2 separate regions of the Homo sapiens genome follow, and region 1 is linked to region 2. Evidence: promoter capture Hi-C in human tissues and cell types (Jung and others, 2019). All regions are on one chromosome and are shown on one strand. Each heading gives the region's core, a stretch centred on a gene start or on the middle of the fragment in contact. The rest is flanking DNA. Distances are from core to core; before and after follow the strand shown.

Region 1 (6,404 bases), core at 3,222-5,721, 400 kb after region 2:
CACAGTGAGCCAAGATCAGGCCACTGCACTCCAGCCTGGCCACAGTCGTAGGATTTGGGGTGGGGGGGTGGGATTCTTAGACCTAGCCATGCAACTCTAATTCGGTGTGCCTTGTTTTTCTTTCTCCCTTAAGTTGATTGGCTGCATAATCGGGCGTCAAGGCGCCAAAATCAATGAGATCCGTCAGATGTCTGGGGCGCAGATCAAAATTGCGAACCCAGTGGAAGGATCTACTGATAGGCAGGTTACCATCACTGGATCTGCTGCCAGCATTAGCCTGGCTCAATATCTAATCAATGTCAGGTAAGATTGCTCTACCTTTTGTCTTATTTATGCCAACACAGTAATGTGTGTGTTGGGGAGAGCTGCAGTGTATTAAATATGGGATTACATGGGCGATGGGTAAAGATGGCCAAAAGGTTTTTTTTTTTTTTTGCTAGCTCTACTTTCTTAGAGTGTAGCAGAAAAAGTAAACTGCAGTAAGTTTTCAAGGGGTTGGTGGGGGGGGGAGCACAGATTGCCCGCATTTAACTTGATGGTTTGGTAAGAGGGAAGAGTGGTCCTTGTCTTCAGTAAGAGTCCTCTGGCTAGAGCACTCACAAAATCAAATGTGGGTCTCTCTTGTTCTACATAGCATATAGACTACTATTTCTTTCACTGATTTGATTTGGAGTCCAAAGCACCCTTAATTGTAATAAGGACATTGGAGTAATAGGACAGCAAGGCAGTTTCTGGGAGGCAGCAATTACCATTTATTCTGGAAACACCCATTTTTCTCACACTGCATGTGTGTTTTATTCAGAGCTTGTGGGAATGTGGGAAGCACAGGTATTGGAATGTTTCGGAAGTGTGAAGTGTGTTTTCTATCTCACTCCTCCCCCAATCTCATCCCTTAATGACTTCCTGAGGGTTTTATTTCCCTTATCCATAGCTAGGTAGTGTTACTACTCTCAATTTTAGGACACTGTTCACAGTCAAATGGGATCCTACAGTCATTTATATTACTTGCTTTCTCAACTCATGGGCTGAAGTCACACCCTTAATTGCTTACTAATATTTCAAAGCATTGTTAGCCTTGAGGCCCTTAGGTCTCTTTTAATAGGGAATGTTGTCTAGTTATCATTTACCTTTCTTATAAGTGTTTAATCTCTTTGTCATAAAAGTTTTACATGAGTTCCTGAATCTAGTACAGGGGAAAGGAATTCCTAAGTATGTGGTCTGTATTGTGCTTGTACTGACCATGTATATATGCTATGGTTATTTAGTGCTAGCTAAGAACATACCATTTCCCCAGTAGCAGTCTGACTTTTGCCTTAAGACTTCATATCTTGAGGTGCTACTACTCTTTGTGTAGAAAAGCTTTCCCTTTCCTAGATTTGTTTTCTTGTCCACCCACCAAGCACACTAGGTCCTTAATGTTGAGAATGAAATGGTAGTAGTAAACTTTTGCACCAAGGTTGTTTGCAAAGAGGTCTTTTTCTTTTTTAGAGATAGGGTTTCATGTTGGTCAGGCTCGTCTCCAACTCCTGACCTCAAGTGATATGCCTCCCAAAGTGCTGGGATTACAAGAATTGTTTTTCTTTCTTTTTTTTTTTTTTGAGACGGAGTCTTGCTCTGTCACCAGGCTGGAGTGCAGTGGCTCCATCTCGGCTCACTGCAACCTCTGCCTCCTGGGCTCAAGTGATTCTCCTGCCTCAGCCTCCCAAGTAGCTGGGACTTACAGGCACGTGCCACCACGTCCAGCTAATTTTTGTATTTTTAGTATAGACGGGGTTTCACCATGTTGGCAAGGATGGCCTCGATCTTTTGACCTTGTCATCCACCTGCCTCGGCCTCCCAAAGTGCTGGGATTACAGGCGTGAGCCACTATGCCCAGCTTGTTTTTCTTATTTGTAATTAGGATTTTGGAGGGCAAGAAGTTTTCAGTTTTCAGTGGCAAGAATCAGGTTTTTGAAAGCTGGAATTTGTTTTGTTCTTTCGATAGGCTTGCCCTTCATGTAATTTAAATTGTGACTGTTTAAATGTGACCTGCTTGCCTAGCTCCTGCAATAGGTCAGTGGCTACATTGTAAGGAAGCAGAATTCTCTTGGTAGAGTGGCTCTTTTCAGGATCATTGTTACTGAATAGCAATTCGGTATCTTAGCCATGGATTAGGGTCAAAACTTTTCAAAGCTTCATCTAACACCAAAGCAAAGATTATGCATGCACAAAGCTTATTCTTTCTCAACTTGGTGCAGTTTAAATGCAGAAGTCAAAGGGTTTTTTTTTTTTTCCTTTCTCATTTTTTTTAAGTCAAGAAGGATTTTACTGGATTCTGAGCATTTTCTCCTGTCTCTTGATTTTTCATGGTGGCAGTCTGTCCTTTTATATAGTTAGTTGACTTCTGTATCCCTTTCCTTTATGGATTGCAGCTGTCCTTGGACATAGGTAAATAAAATGAGGTTTTAAGAGGAGCCTTTCTGCTCTTGAAGACTTAGCGTTGTGGGCTCAATTGTCCAGGCACACTTCCCAAATATATGTAGTTCTGGCTTAGACACATACAGGCATTTGGGAGACATGTACCCTTACTGTTCTGTGGAGCTTATTTTGGGAGTGGAAGCAGCAGCATTTTCGCTTAAGTATGAATTTTTAGGTGATACTTGAGTTTCTCTTTTCCACTTCTGAAAGGTCCACATTAGAAGTATGATCAGTCAGAAACAACTTTTTATACCACCTCCCACCAGAAAAGCTTCCCTAGTTCTTATCTACACTTCTGTTCTCAGCATTTTTCTTTGAAAACGCTACATTCTTTGAAATTTGAAATTAGTCAGTGACCTACTTTGGACTCTTGTCTCTTTCCACCCTGATACTGGTTTGTTTGCTGTGGAGATGTAAGCAGACTTTAATACATAGCTGGAAGGATTTTTAAAAATTCTGCTTTATAAATATTCAAAGCTTCACAAGTAATTGTGGGATAATTGATTTTCTGTTAGAATAGGAAATTGACATTTGATTAGAGGAAACATTTCTTCCTTGTTGGGTGATTGATGAGTATCTTTTTCTACCCGAAATCATTCCTTCAACATCTGGGTTGGGTCAGTGTGTCAGATACATGAAGTATGTGCCCTATGATTTCTTTTCTCTGTCAGCTTTTTCTTCACCATAGCAGTTTTTAAGTAGCTCTGTGGAATGGAAATATACATATTTAGAGGGTGGGACATAGGCTAAAAGAAAGCTTGTCACAAGTTGACACTAGGTCTTCCTAATTGTCAACCAGAGGCACTTACTGATATAACTGAAGCAGTTTTTGTCCTGTACTTACTCCCTTTTGTGGTCTTCCCTTCCACCCACCCTTTTTTTTTGTTCCTTTTTTCCTCTGTTACAGTTTAGAAAACGCTAAACCCTCCTCCCAGGCAGCCTCCGTCACGATCCCTGATCACCTCAGCATCAACCTCTCTCAACCCTCCACCCCTTCTTCTTCTTCCTCCTCCACCACCACCCCCTCGCTCGCCACAGCGGGGACCTCCGACGCACCCTCCAGCCTCCCCAACCCTCTTCCGACCGCCCCTTGTGTCTCCAGTCTGCTTGGCATGAAACCCATCCCTCTCCTGGCTCTAAATGTTGTGTCTGCTGCTAAGGGTACCGGGGCTTCAGCTACCACCACCACCACCTCTGCCGTGCCATGTGTAACTAACAAACTGAAAGGCGAGAAACAGAGATTCTCTCCCTACTGATTGCATACCTTGAGGCACCTCCTCCAGTATTATTTTGTTCATTTTGTTTTCCTTTGTTAACATTGGTGAGAATGAAACTATTGTGAGCTTGTTACCGTTTCCTTTTTACTACTTTGGGGGATAACTGGGTGGGGGTGGGGGAGTGGTAACCCTTGTTTAGGTTTAGGCCATTTCAGCTGAGTGCCTGTTTCAGGGTCTGACTTGAATTCTTTATCTAGAGCCACAGTTTTCTCTTCTTTCTTGTTTGTTACTTTTCTTTGTAGCTTTATTCTGCCTTGCAATATAACAATGTGTTAGGCTCTGTGTTAATGAATAAAAGCTGCTTCGTTAACTTTTTTTTTTTTTTTTAAGAATTATTTAATGGTTAAGCTATCAGCAGGCCTTCTTGGCCATATTTGTGTTTCTAGCTGTAATAAAGTTGGCGCAGTAAGAACCTTAGTACACTGTGTGCTGTGAAGGGTAAAGGGTTGGGGGCTTGTGACTTGTGGCTATTCAGCTAGGAAGCCTGTATAACTGACATGGGCTTTTTGAATCCCAAGTGAATTTTATAGTCGTTTGTCAATATTTCCACAAAGAGATAACGAGTCTGTGGCAGTTTAGATCCTGAAGGTCCTCTGTAATTGGCAACAAGCTTCACTAGTGAGGAAGTTTATCTGACTTCTCAGATGGCCTTACCTTGCCAGCAGCAGCTAACAAGGTGTTCATCCCAGGATTCCTCTGGTGAATGGTTACCATGAGGATCTCTTCCAAGTCATACATTCAAAGAACATACTTCTTTACCCAGAATGAAGGGGAGGGGCAAAGTGGGATAAGTCTAATAAAATTAGGCAGCTTCTGTCTGCATTCCTCTGAATTAGCATTATGCCTCTTTCTGTGACATTAGGTATATCTCAGCCAACCCGTGACATTATCCACAACTTGACATGATGCCATCCACTAGTCCTAAACCAACTCTGTCAACCAAGTTTCTTTACCCTTTTTTCTATTCCTGGCCGTATCCTTTCTGCTCCCCACCAGCACTATCAGGAGTAGGAAGTGACATGCTTAGATTTGGAAGGAACCTTAAGGATCAACTAATCTGTAACACATTGATCCCCTCATTTTACAGATTAAAAAATAGAGGCCCTAAGATAATTTAAATTCATAGGTTATGAGTGACTAGCCAGGACTAACAACTTAAGCTTTACTTTTACTCAATCGTACTAACCTCCCTGAAATCTTGTTCATTTTCTTATACTAAGATGGGCACAGGCCTCTCATAAAACAGTAGAAATGTTCTTAGTATGGTGGTATAAGGCCTCTGATAGCCTTCCATTCAACGAGAGTACACGTTGCCACAGTGCTGAAAGTGTAATGCTCTTCCCAGGGCATTAGAGAACTCAGTGTAGAGATAGTTTCCCTGATGACCTTTTCCCAGCATCACCATTGGCTGACAAAAAAAAAAAAGCTGTTAGTATTCCAATATATTATCTCATTCTTTGATGTTATTTTGGCCCCTCCATCCCAGATTGGGCCTGTGAAGAAGTGTTACACGTCTCAAGTATGCATAAAGGATTAGATGGCCAAACCTGTCCAGTAAGGAGTTTTATTTAGTTGCTCCTTTATCATGTGGTCCAGCTCTCTCCCTTGGTAAGCTTGCTCCTCCTGTAGTTAGGACTTAATCATGCTGATACCATCTCCCCCCAGGGATGTGGTTTTATCTAGTTCTTGATTGGAAGGCCTCTTAACCTAATGGCTATTCCCCAAGGAAGGATTCCACATGTTTAAGGGTCTAGCTACCATCACTACCTCCAAAGGGCCTCAGTTTTAAATTTTTTTAAACCCTAGAGCTCCCCCATGTGGTCTTTTATCCTAGAGTACCTGACTCAGTATTTCATAGCATCCCCTTCTCCCTGCGTCACCTCCCCCACCCCAGCAAATCCCCATTCGGGCTTGATACACATTCAGAACATTTCTTTCAGAGCTCTGGTGGGGCCAGAGTGCTACCACCAATTTTTATGAACTTAAATTTTCAGGTCCTAGATCTAATGGTATCTAGCAGTTCCTTTCTTAGACCTTCAGTTCTTACTGAACCCTTTAATCCAGGGCTATTGTTTACCTTTCCTTAGATCATTGTGTTTTGAAATTGGCACGAATCTACCCCCCTTTTAAGAACTAAATATCCCCTGCCGGGCACGGTGGCTCACGCCTGTAATCCCAGCACTTTGGGAGGCCGAGGCGGGTGGATCACGAGGTCAGGAGATCAAGACCATCCTGGCTAACACAGTGAAACCCCGACTCTACTAAAAACATAAAAAAATTAGCTGGGCATGGTGGTGGGCGCCTGTAGTCCCAGCAACTCGGGAGGCTGAGGCAGGAGAATGGCGTGAACCTGGGAGGCGGAGCTTGCAGTGAGCCGAGACCGCGCCACTGTACTCCAGCCTGGGTGACAAAGCAAGACTCTGTCTCAAAAAAAAAAAAAAAAAAAAAAAAAAAAACCCTAAATATTCCCTTAATACTGAGGTGGAGAAACCATTTCTGACTAAAAGTAAATAGTTTGTAGTCGAAGGACTTTGCAGTTTTTTGGCCCTTGCTTTTCTACCCAGCTTTTGGCTTTGCATTGTTGTGGAAGGGATACAGATGGTGAATTACCAATCATGTTTTCATGACCACATATCACAAATATTTTATGCTAATCAGTTTAAAATCTTA
Region 2 (6,948 bases), core at 1,640-4,139:
CAGTGGCAGAAGACTCAGTTACCCCACTGGAGTCTTCTCAACAAAGCACCTAGGAAGCTTCTGAGACCCCAGCAGCCTCCTGTGTCTGATGTGATCCCTTCCCCTACCCAGCTGGATCCCCTCCTTGCTGGATGAGGACAGAGCCACCCAGTGACAGAGGCAGAGGTGAGTGCAGGGTGAAGCAGCACACACTGCTCCACTCAGAAAGGCCTCTGGGCGGGTGGATCACTTGAAGTCAGGAGTTCAAGACCTGCCTGGCCAACATGGTGAAACCCTGTCTCTACCAAAAATATAAAAAATCAGCCGTATGTGGTGGTGCACGCCTGTAATCCCAGCTACTTGGGAAGCTGAGGCAGGAGAATCGCTTGAACCCAGGAGGCGGAGGTTGCAGTGAGCTGAGATCACGCCACTGCACTGTAGCCTGGGTGACAGAGCGAGACTCTGTCTTAAAAAAAAAAAAGAAAAAGAAAGGCCTCTGGAGTCAAGAGCATCGCCCTTCCCTGTGCAGTGCACAGTCCCCTTCTCTGAAAAAATAAAAGTTAAAAAAAAAAAACCCTTTCCTCTCTAAGATCTGGAACAGAGAAGAAAATGTGGAAGCATTCTCCTGAACTCACCTTAAAGTATCTCCATCTACAAGGATATGTTTGAACCTCTCCTGATATCGGAAAGCTCGGACCTCTCGAATCTCCCGGATCCGCCGGCGCCAATTCAGAAACCGGTAGTGCAGGTTGAGGTCATCCATCTTGTTCATGAGAACAAACCTGCCAAGGGGAGAAGGGGATTGAGGAGAAAGCAGGGCCCTAGGTAAAGCACCTCAGCCTCTGTGACCCAGAAGGTAGAGAAGGCACTGGCCTTGAGGCCAGCTGCCCAGATTGACCTCAACAACCCTCATCTTCTTTCTTCCATTCAACAAACATTTACCAAGCACCTACTCTGTGTGCTTTTCTCCGTGCTAGGGATGGAGCTGTGAACAAGATGGACAGGATTCCCATTCTCACAGGCTGGGAGGTGGACACGACAGGCAATAAACAGACATAATTTCAGGCAGTGGAGAAAAGAACAGGGTGATATGATAAAGAATCTGGAGGCAGTGGATAGAGTGGACAGAGGCGGTCTCTCTGAGGAGGTGACATTTGAGTTGAAAAGGAGCTAGGCATGACAAGCCAGGCATATTCCAGGCAGGAAGGGCAGCCACAGGTCCTTGGATGGAAGAGAGCTGGCATGGTAGAGAAACAGAAAAAGGCATGGACAGCTGGTATATAGGGAATGTGAGGGAGAATGTACAAGATGAGAATAAGGCAGGAGTCAGATCATGGCCCTACAGACAATGAAATGGTAAGGACTCTGGATTTTATTCCAAGATGGAAATTTCTGGAGGGTTGTAAGCAAGGAAATGCCATGATTGGCTGGGTATGATGGCTCATGCCTGCAATCCCAGCACCTTGGGAGGCTGAGGCAGGAGGATCGCTTGAGGCCAGGACCCAGACCAGCCTGGGCAACGTAGTGAGACCTCATCTCTACTAAAAATTAAAACAATGAGCCAGGTGTGGCAGCATGCACCTGTAGTCCCAGCTACTAAGGAGACTGAAGATGGCTTGAGTCTGGCAGGTCAAGGCTGCAGTCAGTTCTGATTGTGCCACTACATTCCAGCCTGGCTGACAGAGCAAGACCCTGTCTCAAAAAAAAAAGAAAAAAAAATGCCATGATCCTGGGCCTGGTGGCTCACGTCTGTGATCCCAGCACTTTGGGAGGCCGAAGTGGGAGGATCACAAGGTCAGAAGTTGAAGACCAGCCTGACCAACATGGTGAAACCCCATCTCTACTAAAAATACAAACAAATTAGCCAGGCGTGGTGGTGCGCACCTGTAATCCCAGCTACTCAGGAGGCTGAGGCAAGAGAATTGCTTGAACCTGGGAGGTGGAGTTTGCAGTGAGCCGAGATCGTCCCACTGCACTCCAGCCTGGGTGACAGAAACTCCATCTCAAAAAAAAAAAAAAAAGCCACGATCTTAATCAGTTCCTAAAGATCATTCCAGCTGCTGGTTGGAGAACTGATCACAAGAGGATCAAGAACAGATGTGGGCAAACAATTCAGACGTTGTTGCAGCAGTTCACATGAGAAATGACATCCACTAAGTCGGTAGCAGCGCCGATGGATGGGGGTGGGATGATCCAGGTATTTAAACAACCATCAGTCCCTACATATAAATGAATGAATGATTTTTCCTGGGAGCCAAAAGTGAGAAAGAGGTGAAGTACTCTTCTCTTCCCATTCCCTAAACACTGGGACAGGGGTTTTCTTGAGGCCTGACATTGCCTTGCACACGGTAGGTGCTTAGTAAGCCTTGGCTGGGCTGAATTTGATCCCAATACGCAAATTACGACTCTTATGCAGTAGCTACAACCCACCACGTGGCCCAGAAGAGTAGGCACCTGTGGGACAGACAGCCCTAAGATTCCACTCCCGGGCACTCAGCCAGGACTCAACCCCAGGTAGATGCTGGTTGCGCAGACCCCACAGTCTTGGCACCGGCGAGTGGCGGCCCTACTGGGCCCTGTCTCCTCCCCGGGCACGGCCTGATCACTGAGATGAGACCCGGGAGCAGCCGGGCCCCAGCCCATCCGTGTGCCTACGCCCAGTCTCCCCAGGCCCTGCACTGGGCCGAGGGTGCAGCAACAGAAGAAGCCCAGTGACCAGAGCGCAGGGCCCCGCCCCTGGCCCCAGAGCCCCCGCCCAGGACCCCCGCCTTCCGCTTCAGGCTCCGGGGAGATACGAGGCCTCCGGGACCCCGCCCCCGATCCCCGCCTACCGGGGCCGCCGCGTCCTCCTCATCCATAGGCCTCTCAGCTCCGCACACAAGCTCTTCGGCCGCCGCCACCACACACATCCGGGTCCCCGCCTTTCCTTCACTCCTAGAGGCCCGCCCCGTCCCCCATCTAAGCCAATCAGCAACGGCCTCTGACGACGGGCACCTGCAGGAGCCAATCGGAAGGCGCAGGCAGGGTGTGGGGCGCGGCCCGGTGCCCTGGGTACCCAGCTCAGGGCCCCGGTCTGGTCAACCCGGCTGTTGCTGGGGTGAGCGAAGGCGACGTGGCAGCGCGGACGCTGCTGGGTGCCTGGGCGCCGCTGAGGCGGACAGGGGGCGGCTCTTGAGCGGCGCCGGGGAGACGGGACGGGCGGAGAAGGTGGCCACGCTCGCACAAACGTTGCGAGTATTACTTGAGCCCTCCTTCCGCGCTGGACTGAAATAAAAGCTTTACCGGAATGTCCATTTAATCCACGGTGCAGCCTTATGAAATAAATCTTATCTCCTTTTTACGGATGGGCCGAAGGCTGGCCTCGATAGCCTGCGCGCTTAACTGTTATGCTGTGTACCCTCCCGAGCTCTGTTTCATGGCACCGCTCGCTCATTATTGGCAAGAACATTCCATTCCAGGAGGAGAGAACTGGGGATGCAGAAGGCACAGTGGCACGAAGCGGCATTCTGTGGAGGAACACAGGGCTTTGGTAGGCTGAAGGAAAGTTAGACTGGGGTTAGAATGTGAAGGGACGAAGACACGAATATTTATTGAACACCTACTAGGGAGTGCCTACCTGCCATTCTGGGGGGTTGGACTCCTAGATGAGGACTTCCTTGCTCCCTTCCCATCACCATATCTCTCTCTTCTGGACGGAAAAGATTCCTCTCCTCTGTAGCACCTCATTTATAATACTTTTTTTTTTGAGACGGAGTCTCACTCTGTCGCCCAGGCTGGAGTGCAGTGGCGCGATCTCGGCTCACTGCAAGCTCTGCCTCCTGGGTTCACGCCATTCTCCTGCCTCAGCCTCCCAAGTAGCTGGGACTACAGGCGCCCGCCACCACGCCAAGCTAATTTTTTTTGTATTTTTGGTAGAGACGGGGTTTCACCGTGTTAGCCAGGATGGTCTCGATCTCCTGACCTCTTGATCCGCCCACCTCGGCCTCCCAAAGTGTTGGGATTACAGGCGTGAGCCACCGCCCCCCGCCATTTATAACACTTATTACCGTCTTGCTTTCGTTATTGGAGTTACTTGTGTGTGTAGACCCGTCTCTGCTAGACTGTGAGCTCCTTCAGACCCCAGACTATTCTATTCTTATCACACTAGGTACTCTAACGTGTTGAGTGCCAGGAAAGCCATCAGCTCGCATACCGTGAATAGTGCCCACTCGGCATAACGGCAATGGGTGATAGGAATAGATGAGATGGGAAACAGAGAAACCCGGATTAGAGCCCCAATTCTGTGTGACTAAAAGGTCAAGGTCTTGGTGTTCTCATCCCTAAACAAGAATTATTGAAGTATGTGTTCTTTTAGCTCCCTTCCAGCCCCTGGATGACTCAGTTCTGAATAGCTACCCTTCCAACTCATCTCCACCTCCTTTTGATTCCCTCATTGCTTCTCCTCCGCTCCTCTTCTTGTGTTATGAAAATACCTCAACACTGAGCTCAGCTCTTCCCAAAGGCAGCCAGAGAGGGACAATCTTAGGAGGCTGCCAGAGTCATGTTCATCCCAGACCAGGGCTCATTCCAGAAACTAACTAGCTAGGTGGCTAGGGTCAGACATGGAGAGAAATGGCAGAAGAAGGCATTTCCAAACTGTTACTGATGGTTGGTGATTCCACTCGGGATTTCCTCACCTTTAAGTTCCAGATGTGGGGCTCACCTTTTTGGCGAATTCTCCATCCATTGGCATGCTCAGGACCCAGTTGGTAATTTGTGTTTGGTGTCTACATGTATTTGAATAAACAACTTTATTGCCATATAACCGACATACAATAAACCATATATATTTAAGGTGTACAATTTATTCCTTTCTTTTTTTAATTAGAGACGAAGTCTCACTGTGTTGCCCAGGCTAGTCTCAAACTCCTGAGCTCAAGCAACCCTCCCACCTCAGCCTCCCAAAGTTCGAGGATTACAGGTATGAGCCACTGCACCTAGCCAAGGTATACAATTTGATAAGCTACTTATATACCTATGAAAATGAAAATGTCACCACACCCAAGATAGTGACCATATCATCATCATCCCTAAAAATTTCCTCATGCTCCTTTATAATCCCTCTCTCTCACTCTTTCATCCCTAGGAACCACTAATCTGCTTTTTGAAACTTTTTTTTTTGAGACAGAGTCTCACTCTGTCGCCCAGGCTGGAGAGCAATGGGGCAATCTTGGCTCACTACAACCTCCACCTCCCGGGTTGAAGGGATTCTCCTGCCTCAGTTTCCCAAGTAGCTGGGATTATAGATGCCCGCCACCACGCCTGGCTAATTTTTGTATTTTTAGTAGAGACGGAGTTTCACTATGTTGGCCAGGCTGGTCTTGAACTCCTGCCTCAGCCTCCCAAAGTGCTGGGATTACAAGCATGAGCCACCGCGCCCAGCCCACTAATCTGCCTTTTTGTCACTATCTTAGTTAGCATTTCCTAGAATTTTATGTAAGTGGAATCATACAGTAAATCCTCTTTGAGGAGGGATGTGTCTGGCTTCTTTTGTTCAGCGTAATTACCTTGAGAGATTCATCCATATTGTTGTTTGTGTTAATAGTTTTTATTTATTTATTTATTTGGGGCAGGGTCTTGCTCTGTTGCCCAGGCTGGAGAGCAATGGCGTGATCAAGGCTTATTGCAACTTCAAACTCCTGGCCTCAAGTGATCCTCCCACCTTGGCCTCTCGATTGTTCCTTTTTATTGCTGAATAGTATGCTATTGTTGGAATATATTACAATTTATTTATTCACTTGTTGATGGACATTTGGATTTTTTCAGTTTTTGGCTATTACAAATAAAGCTATGATGAATATTCATGTACAAGTCTTTGTATGGACATATTTCATCTTCTTTTTCTTTTTATTGAGATGGAGTCTCACCCTGTCACCCAGGCTAGAGGGCAGTGGCATGATCTTGGCTCACTGCAACCTCCACCATCCAGGTTCAAGTGATTCTTGTGCCTCAGCCTCTCAAGTAGCTGGGACTACAGGCATGTGCCACCACGCCTGGCTAATTTTTTTTTTTTTGTATTTTTAGTAGAGATGGGGTTTCACCGTATTGGCCAGGCTGGTCCAGAACTCCTGACCTCACGTGATCTGCCCACCTTGGCCTCCCAAAGTGTCATTTTCTCTTAAGTAAATATCTAGGAGTGAATGGCTCAGTCACATGGTAGATGTACGGTTCTTAATTGGTTAAAAAGCATCACACTGTTTTCAGAAGTAGTTGTATCATTTTACATTCCTATCAGCAGTGTGTGAGTGTTCTAGTTGTTCCACATCCTTGCCATCACTTGGTATGGTTATTCTTTTTACTTTCAGCCTTCCTAATAGGTAGGTATCACAGTGTATGAGGGTTCCAATTTGTCTACATACTCAACAACACTTGTTATTATCTCTTTTTGATTATAGCCACTTAGTGTGAAGTGGTATCTCATTTCACTTTTGATTTCCATTTCCCTAATGACTAACGAGGTTGAGCATCTTTTCATATGCTTATTTGTCATCCATATATCTTCTCTGGTGAAGTATCTGATTAAATCACTTGCTCATTTCAAAAAATTGTTTCTTATTGCATTTTGAAAGTCTTTATATATTCTAGATTCAAATTCTTTATCAGATATGTGCTTTACAAATATTTTCTTCTAGTCTGCAGCTTGTCTTCTCATGTTTTTAACGGAGTTGTTCAGGCTGGGCATGGTGGCTCACACCTGTAATTCCAGTGCTTTGGGAGGCCAAGGCAGGGAGAATTGCTCAAACCCAGGGGTTCAACACCAGCCCTGGCAATACAGTGAGACCTGGTCTCTACAGAAAATTTAAAAATTAGCCAGTCTGTTGGCACACACTTGTAATCCTAGCTTCTTGGGAGGCTAAGATGGCAGGATCACTTGAGCCCAGGAGGCAGAGGTTGCAGTGAGCCATGGTTGTGCTGCCACTGCACTCCAGC

What was found. The method cuts DNA at HindIII sites, captures the fragments that hold promoters and counts their contacts. A contact is called where the count stands out against the background at its distance.
Region 1: a contact is called between a fragment that was not itself captured here and the fragment with the promoter of SPRYD3 in region 2, in 1 of the 25 tissues and cell types used here (dorsolateral prefrontal cortex).

What each region holds. Positions count from the first base shown.
Region 1 is chr12:53,471,505-53,477,908 of GRCh38, forward strand. It overlaps PCBP2 (poly(rC) binding protein 2), which reads left to right. Exons shown (of 15, transcript NM_031989.5): 14 at 134-303. Among named protein-coding and RNA genes, the nearest start is that of PCBP2-OT1, 10 kb to the left of the region's middle. The HindIII fragment of the contact is 4,559 bases long and covers 2,193-6,404 here.
Region 2 is chr12:53,076,501-53,083,448 of GRCh38, forward strand. It overlaps SPRYD3 (SPRY domain containing 3), which reads right to left and starts at 2,890. Exons shown (of 11, transcript NM_032840.3): 1 at 2,811-2,890; 2 at 615-761. The coding sequence starts at 2,833. RefSeq lists a silencer at 2,591-2,870. The HindIII fragment of the contact is 7,407 bases long and covers 1-6,896 here.